Regions from separate parts of the Homo sapiens genome. Here all the other regions are linked to region 1. Evidence: promoter capture Hi-C in 16 types of primary human blood cells and fetal thymus (Javierre and others, 2016). All regions are on one chromosome and are shown on one strand. Each heading gives the region's core, a stretch centred on a gene start or on the middle of the fragment in contact. The rest is flanking DNA. Distances are from core to core; before and after follow the strand shown. Region 1 holds the start of NEK5 (NIMA related kinase 5). Region 2 overlaps INTS6 (integrator complex subunit 6). Region 3 overlaps INTS6 (integrator complex subunit 6).

Region 1 (2,741 bases), core at 106-2,605:
ACTTTTGCCCTGTATTCTCGGGTAAGTCACTTAACCTGGCAAAACCTCACTTTCCTAATTTCTAAAATGGAATAACAATACCTGTTTTGCAAGTTTGTTCTGAGAATGAAAGATACTATATCCGGTGTTTCGCACCTTTATAAAGCAGGAATGTCCTTAGGCTTGTGCACTTTTATAGTTCAGCCTTTCTTAGTGGGGACGTACTGCCCCCTAGGGGGAATTCTGGAAATATATGGGGGTGGGGAAGCTGTTTCCCCAAGATTCAGAGGCATGAGGTTTACAGGTGGTTGGGGCCTGAGATGGTAGGATTCTGCGATTCGAGAGACAGTCCCGCACAATAAAGGATTACCCCGCGGCCCTACAATCTTGGAGAGTCTTCCTATACATTCCTGTGCGTGGAAAAATCCGTTTGTGGCTAGAACCAAACTCTATTTTACATCGAAATGCTAAGTATTTTTGCAGTTTTAATGAACACTTCTTTTTTTTTTCGAGGAATGCAACTACATGTAAATCAAGGCTTGATTGCACTTCGGTTTGGAGGTTTACCAAGAATTGTTCACCATTTGGGAAAACCACGCGCTTCACTGGCCACGCTGCTCCTGGTCCCGGAGACCCAACAATCTGCATTTGCTGCCGTCACGTTCAGGCGACTCCCCAGGCGCGGCTACTGGCTACTTCTCTACATTTTCCAAGGGTAGTAGTGCCAAGCATTTTCAGATTGAAATATGTACTTTCTTACTTATTGCTTTCCTTCTATTTCCTCTTTATGCTACAGTTAGGGCATAATACAGTTTTGTTGTTGTTGTTAATGGGGTGAGCAGGGGGCTTGTTTTCGAATAATTTTACGTCAGGGTGGGAAGTCGGTACTGGGTTGCAGGGGGCTGGGAACCAGCTCCGCAGCCAGGAGAGGCTGCAGACACCGGAGGATCGGGTTCTGAGAGAGACGCATACGGACTTGGGGCCGGGGGTGACTCGCCGGGAACTGAGGGCCCGCGACCCTCCCGCCCAAGTGGCACCAAAGGGTGGAAGCCCCCAAATTAGGAAAATTCCTTCTCCCCTAGGGCCGCCCCTGGAAGCGGCCGCGGGTGAGTGGCAAGACGCTTACCCGTACCCGACCTCCGCGTGTGGAGCGTTGCCATAGAGACCGACGCGCCCTGGACGCTACACCCACACAGCCCAGGACGCTAGGCCTTTTCTGGGCCGCCCCCGCCGCCCCAGGCCGAAACTCCATCCCTTTCCCCCACCCTGCCGAGCTCCCGAAGCCCTGTGGCGGCTCCGGGCAAGAACTAAGGGCGGCCCCTGCAAGCGTACCTGCTCCGCCGGCTCCGCGGGGCCAACGAAGCGTCCCGGAAGGATCCGGGTTCCCGGGGCCGCTGCGCCTCCCTGCGGCCGGGGCGGAGCCGCGCAAGGAAACGCGGGCGGGGCGCGGGTCTGGAATGGCCTGGGGACCAGTCCACCTCGAGGCAGGGTCAGGCGCCAGGGAGTTTGGAGACCCGGCAGAGTCACCCCGCAACCGTCCCGTTGCCTTGGGTCGGGATTCCTTTGCTTTGCAGTCTACAGTAGCGCTCCCCGCTCTTGCTTAAGGTGCACCAGACGCTTCGCAAACGTTCTCTCTTTTCTTTACAACCCGTCAAGGCAGTAGTCTCCCAGTTTTACAAATGAGCTAAACTGATACAGGAAGAGTGTTTCTTGTACAAGGTCTCAAATATTGCCAAAAGGTGGACGTGAGACTGGAACGGCTTCCTACTCTTTGGGCCACAGCGGCGGCCTGCCAAGGGACTTTCTAACGAAACCGGCGCTGCCCAAGCGTCTGCACTCACGCCCAGTGCTCATCCCACCCTGCCCCATTCTGGATTTGCACATCAAGCTGCTGTCTAAAATGTTTAAGTAGTTGAAAAAAATGTAATTTTCAGCAATTGTAAATAGTGACGCAAGTTAAATATATCCAACTGAATCGAAACACTACAGTAATATGGTACCCTCCATCGTCCACCTCACACACACACACAAAAAAAACCCACAAAAAACTCTTAAAAATCCTAAGTTTACATCATTACTCTTCCTTCTTAAAATCATCTCTCCGCCGCCCCCTCCCCGTCCCTGCCACAAAAAATTTCTTCTTCTTGTAAGCACTCTAGTCAAGTTGGATTAGGGCTGAACTAAAGGCCTCATTTTGATCTAATTGCATCTTTAAAGTCTCTGTCTCCGAATATAGTCTCATTATTAGTTATTGGTGTTAGATTTCAGTGTGTGAATTGGGGGTGGCCGCGGCGGGGGTGAATGCAGCCCGTAGCAGGAGTCCAAAAGTTGTTTAGCAGTTGGAATATCCAATGTTAGTTTCTTTGGCAGTGAAATTCCCTCAAAATATTAGTAGGTATATGATCTACTTGTTTTTGTTTAATTACACGTGTCAGTGACCACACCCAAATTTCTTCCCTAGAATTCTTAGACATGCTTCATTAAATCATATCTTCATTCTACTTTCCTGATAGAATTTTACCCGTTATCTTTTTCATACTTGAAAGTCTTATTGATCATCCTATCATACTGCTGAAAGAAGTACAGAAATGGAAATTTATATTTCCTGCTCATAGAATTTTAGTTTTTCTGGATTAAATTGTTAAAATTACTAGTACTACACAATTGATCACAATAAAATGTATCACAATACTGATAATTATTAAATATAAAAAATAAAATTGTATTGAAAATTCATCTCTTTAAGACCTGGATGGGCTTCC
Region 2 (2,741 bases), core at 77-2,576, 740 kb before region 1:
ATCATTAGCAAGAAAAAAACAACTGTGGGGTTTCTGACAGTACTAATTAACAAAAGTTCAATGGTAAAAGTTGACTAATTTCATTATCTTATGAAAGAATGCACAAAAATCATTATTTCCAACCAACCAACAATCCCATTTTGTGAGAGTATGTACATTTTTTCTTCTAATTACAGGTATTTGGAACATAGAATTCTTGGTCTGAACAAAACACATGAAAACAAGTCACATATTTTATGTTTTTTAAAACATATATATAAAAAACACTATCTCCAACTGTTATGCAATACAATTTATCTTTAACACATATACACACACACATCTAGTAACTGTCTCCCCAAAATCTTATTCCTGCTTAACAAAAGTATTATCACTAAGATTTACTGTGCACATAGTAGGTATGTAATAACTACTTGTTTACTGGCAGTTTTTAAGTATTTTAAATATTTGCATTTTAATATACAGATGGTAGCGTGTGCTTTTCTGAATTTCACTTAGCTTATGTAAACACTTGGGAATTACCTGTCTCACGTGAATTCCCCTTTTGTACGTTTTAACTTATACTACTTTTGGTTCAGAAGCATTAAATACTAGTGATTTTTTTAAAAAGATACCAGTGAAAAGATCTTTTAAAGAGGAATTTTCAACAAAAATATCTAGACCTTTGCTATACAATACTTTATATACTAGACACATGTAGCTATTGAGAACTTGAAATATAGCTAGTCTGAATTGAAATGTATAGTAAGTAAAATATACACCTGATTTTGTTGACTTAGTATGAAAAAATATAAAACATCTCATTAGTAATTTTAAAATATCAATCTCACACTGAAGTAATAAGGATATATTGATTTAAATAAAATATATTATTAAAATTAATTTCATCTATTTTTAATTTTTAAAGTGGCTACTATGAAATTTTTTATTACATATGAAATTTGAATCAGATTTCTATTATACAGTTCTGATCCAGACCAACACTAAAAACCTTGACAGCTAAAACTCAATCTTTGGCCAAATATTTTGCAACATTATTTGTAATAAGCTCAATATGATGCCCTACTCTTTTACACATTCAACCAATTATTTCACAACACAAGCTACATCATTACATTTGACACATCAAATTACTTATATCAACTTACACTTAACGTGATTTGTTAAAGGCTACTCAGAAAAGAGAACATTATAGACAATGGTGATTCAAATCCTCAAAGTCAGCTTTACTTAGAAAAAATAAATACAACAACTTAACTGTATAAAATAATGATGATTATAACCTTAACAAATATCTACCAATTACTGAGTATCTACGTGCCTGGCACTGTTCCAATCATTTTATGATTATTAATTTCTTTAATCTCAGCAACAATTGTATGGGTTATTTTCCCCATTTTACAAATGAGAACACTAAGGCACAGAGAGGCTAACTAACTTTTCCAAGTTAGTATAGTGATAGAGTTACAATTCAAACCCTTACAGTGTATCAGAAACTATTCTGGATATCCTTTGTCCCTTGGAAATCCTCTGTGAATTTGAAATCAGTACTTAAAATACAGCATCTATATGAAGTCATGCTTACTTGAAAGAATTGGTAAATTCAAATTTTTTTCTAAGTCAATTTAAGTATATACAAAAAGCAATCCATAAAAAGGCTAACCATCTTTACATGCAAAATATTAGAAGTTTACATAAAGGTTGAGTATCTTATTTCATGAAATTTAAGCATATTCCTAAGATGTCATTAAAAAGCAAAAATTTTAAAGTATATAAACTATGACAATTATCTTGCTCTCCTAAGTTGTGTCATCAATTAAGAAAACATAAGCAAATCAATCTTAACACGAAATAAAATTACTAATCAGTATATTTTACAAAAATTGGAGAAAAAGAATAAAATGAGTCATTTGGTAATAAAAATCTATTAATTATTTTAAAAGTTAAACAGAAATAGCAAATTTTGCTTTCTTTACAAAGTGAGCCTATATCCTCCGTAATGTTCCTCATGTGTACTTATTGTCTATGTCAAAACTTACTCCTTGGGATATACAACACTTTGTGCTAATGCATAAAGTTTCTAGGATCACTACTTGTATTTGTGAAAAAAGTTTTATTAGCACACACCTTCAAGTCAAGAAGCTGTCTCACTTTGGGTTATGTAGAGTCCACAAAAAAGTCAAACTAAATATAGTGAGTCTAAAGGCAGTATTAGCATCTTTGTCAAATAGAGAAGAAGCAAATGAACATTTCTAAGTTGGTCAATAGTCCTTACAGAGGCTAAGAAAGTTAAATGTATTTAATCTAGAAATATCTATAATTTTTATAAAATACTTAAAAAATTCTTGATATATTTAACAACATGTCTATTACACATTTTAAAATTTGCTATCATCCTTGCACCTCCCCTAAACCTGCTTCTCCCCAGTGTACCATCTCAGTCCTTGGCACAGCCATCCATCTCTAGTGGTTCGGACCAACTGAATCATCTGGGAACCATCCTGGATTGCTTCTTCCCTTATTGTCCTCATCCTTGGTTCTCTTTTGCATTAAGCCACCTCTCAGGACCTCCAAAGCTAGCATAGAACAAAGTACTACTACTAGTCTTCCTGCTTTCATTCTTGCCACTCTATATTCTCATCTAACAGGTGAAGTGGTATTTCAGAAATAGAAATCAGACGTCACCTCCCGTAAAAAGCCTTCAAAAGGCTTCACATCATACTTGGAATATAAAAATATAT
Region 3 (2,741 bases), core at 132-2,631, 720 kb before region 1:
AAGAGTGTTTCTGTACGGTATGGCCAGGCATAGTGGTTCATGCCTAAATCCCAGCAATTTGGGACTTGAGGCCAGGAGTTTGAGACCAGTCTGGCCAACACAGCAAAAGCTCGTCTGTACTAAAAATACAAAAATTAGCCAGACATGGTGGCACACGCCTGTAATCCCAGCTACTCGGGAGGCTGAGGCTGGAGAATCGCTTGAACCCAAGAGGCAGAGGTTGCAGTGAGCCAAGATCGTGCCACTGCACTCCAGCCTGGGCAACAGAGTGAGACTCGGTCTCAAAAAAAAAAAAAAAAGTACAATAACATTTTCAATGCTAAAGTATAACTATAGATAATTGTTAAATAATAGCCCAAATTATTCAGAATCTACCATAAAACATTTAGACTAGAATAAACCATTGAGATGGGTTTTTTTTTTTTTTGAAATGGAGTTTCGCTCTTGTTGCCCAGGCTGGAGTGCAGTGGTGCAATCTCGACTCACTGCAACCTCTGCCTCCCAGGTTCAAGTGATTCTCCTTCCTCAGCCTCCCGAGTAGCTGGGATTACAGGCGCCTGCCACCATGCCCAGCTAACTTTTTGTATTTTTAGTAGAGACGGGGTTTCACTATGTTAGCCAGGCTGGTCTTGAACTCCTGACCTCAGGTGATCCACCCTCCTTGGTGTCCCAAAGTGCTGGGATTACAGGCAAGAGCCACTGCACCCGGTCATTGAGTTTTATTAATAAGTCAGAAAGTTCATTTAAAGCACATTGGCCAGGAATCTTAAAAATTATAAAGGAAAAGCTTTGAATCATTTTGGAGAGCCATTATTTTTCCAGGTAACTGAGAGCACTTAATGCCTCAAGCACAAAAACATCAACAGAAACCTTCTGTAGTATGTTATGTATGTCCCTATTTGTGAAACTAGGTTGTATTAAAAAATAATAATCTCTTTCTTGATAACTCAAAGAAGTAGGAAAAAAACTTAAAGACCTTTTGACCACACCAAATATTGCCCATAATCACACAAGTTAAGAGACTGATAATTCATCATTTACTGAATGCTTATAATGTGACAAGGTTTCAATGAGTTACCTTGCTTTAATCATCTTATTTAATCCTCCAACAAACCTAAAACCTATAACTTAAATTCTAAGGTGTATCATCACTTTAATATATTTCTTTGCTTCCCCAAATTTAACATTAAATGTGCATAAAAATTTTTCCAACTATAGCATAAAATTATCTAGGCAGCTGCATATCCCTTTCTTCTTCCATATCATAGCTCCATAGCATTTGAGTATCACAGAGTTTGAGTCTACGCCTTCCCCAGACTAAGTCTACTAATTAAATTCCTTTTGGCCATTAGAAGTTAAGCAGAGCATCAGGGTCATATTTTATAACGTGTGCTTAATGATCTTGACCTTTTTAGCACCATGAGTTTGAAAAATGTAATTTCAGCTGGGCACAGTGGAGGCAGAGGTTGTAGTGAGCCGAGATTGCACCACTGCACTCCAGCCTGGGTGACAGAGTGAGAATCCGTCTCAAATAATAATAATAATAATAATAATAATAATAATAATAATAATAATAATAATAGTATAACTTCAAGGTATACTAAAGACTCTGAGTATTTCATTCGTACTTTCTAGGAGAATATTTATATTCTTATTTCAATTACAAACTACCAGCCAATATAACACTTATCTTTTAAATGTTGGCTTTGGACAGATATTAGATTCCTCAGTAACAGTTTTTCATAGTCAGTGAAACAGTTATGATACCATCTCATAGCTTTGATAGTTTTATTTGTTTTCTCAGAAATTTGGCAATGTCAACTGCCTTTATTTGTGCTGTCTGATATAGGTTAGGTAATTTATTATTTGTATTTTTTTTGTTACAATGCTAATTCATCATAGGTAGTATTTTTTTTAATTTTAAGGAACAATTGGTGTTCCTTAAAATTAAATGTTAATGTTAACAAATTAATGTTAAGCTTCTAGATTTCAAGACAAGACAACAATGTCCATTCTCACTACTTCCACCAGTACATTGAAGCAAGAAAAAGAAATAAAAGGCAGACAGATTTGGAAAGGAAGAAGTGTACCTGTCTATATTCAGACAAGATGATTTTGTACGTAAAAAGCTTCAAGGAATCTAGAAAAGCTACTAGGTAACAAGAAAATTTAGAAAGGTCACAGGATACCAGGTAAAGATGCAAAAAAATCAACTGTTTATGTACTAACAACAAATCATCAGAAGTTGAAAGTAAAAAGACCAATCAATAATAACATCAAAATATATAAAATACCCAACATATGTATAAACTCCCATCTGAAAACTACAAATATTGCTGAAAAAATCAAACACTTAAATCTGAAAAATATGCCATGCTCATGGATCAGAATAGCCAATAAGGTAAAAAGTGTCATTTTTCCCTCAAACTGATTTATAGATTCAATGTAATTCCAATAAAAATTGCAGTAAGCTTTCTTATAAAAACTAATAAACCTGATTCTAAATTTACATGTAAACTCAAAGGACCTAGAATAAACAAAGCAATTTGGATAAAAACAAAGTTGGAGACTTAACTAAATGATTTCAAAACTCGTTATAAAACCACAGTAGTTGACACCATGTTGTATTGCCGAAGACACAGGTTATCAACAAAACAGAATAGAAAGTCCAGAAACAGCCACACAAAAACATGGCTAATTGACTCAATAAAGATGCTTCAGCAATGAGGAAATGATAATCT

Evidence for each region. Contacts are between HindIII fragments. The CHiCAGO score rates a contact against its expected background, and 5 or more counts as called.
Region 2: a contact is called between a fragment that was not itself captured here and the fragment with the promoter of NEK5 in region 1, in 2 of 17 cell types (neutrophils and total CD4 T cells). The highest score is 6.4, in neutrophils.
Region 3: a fragment that was not itself captured here is called in contact with the fragment with the promoter of NEK5 in region 1 in 2 of 17 cell types (total CD4 T cells and total CD8 T cells); the score reaches 7.5 in total CD4 T cells.

The regions. Positions count from the first base shown.
Region 1 is chr13:52,127,718-52,130,458 of GRCh38, forward strand. NEK5 (NIMA related kinase 5) reads right to left here and starts at 1,356. Exons shown (of 24, transcript NM_001365552.1): 1 at 1,312-1,356. LOC101929657 (a long non-coding RNA gene) reads left to right here and starts at 1,178. Exons shown (of 2, transcript NR_110306.1): 1 at 1,178-2,741. The HindIII fragment of the contact is 11,669 bases long and covers 1-2,741 here.
Region 2 is chr13:51,389,513-51,392,253 of GRCh38, forward strand. All of the region lies in intron 5 of INTS6 (integrator complex subunit 6), which reads right to left. Among named protein-coding and RNA genes, the nearest start is that of MIR5693, 42 kb to the left of the region's middle. The HindIII fragment of the contact is 3,957 bases long and covers 1-2,741 here.
Region 3 is chr13:51,407,734-51,410,474 of GRCh38, forward strand. The region is part of intron 4 of INTS6 (integrator complex subunit 6); the gene reads right to left. Among named protein-coding and RNA genes, the nearest start is that of INTS6, 44 kb to the right of the region's middle. The HindIII fragment of the contact is 1,192 bases long and covers 786-1,977 here.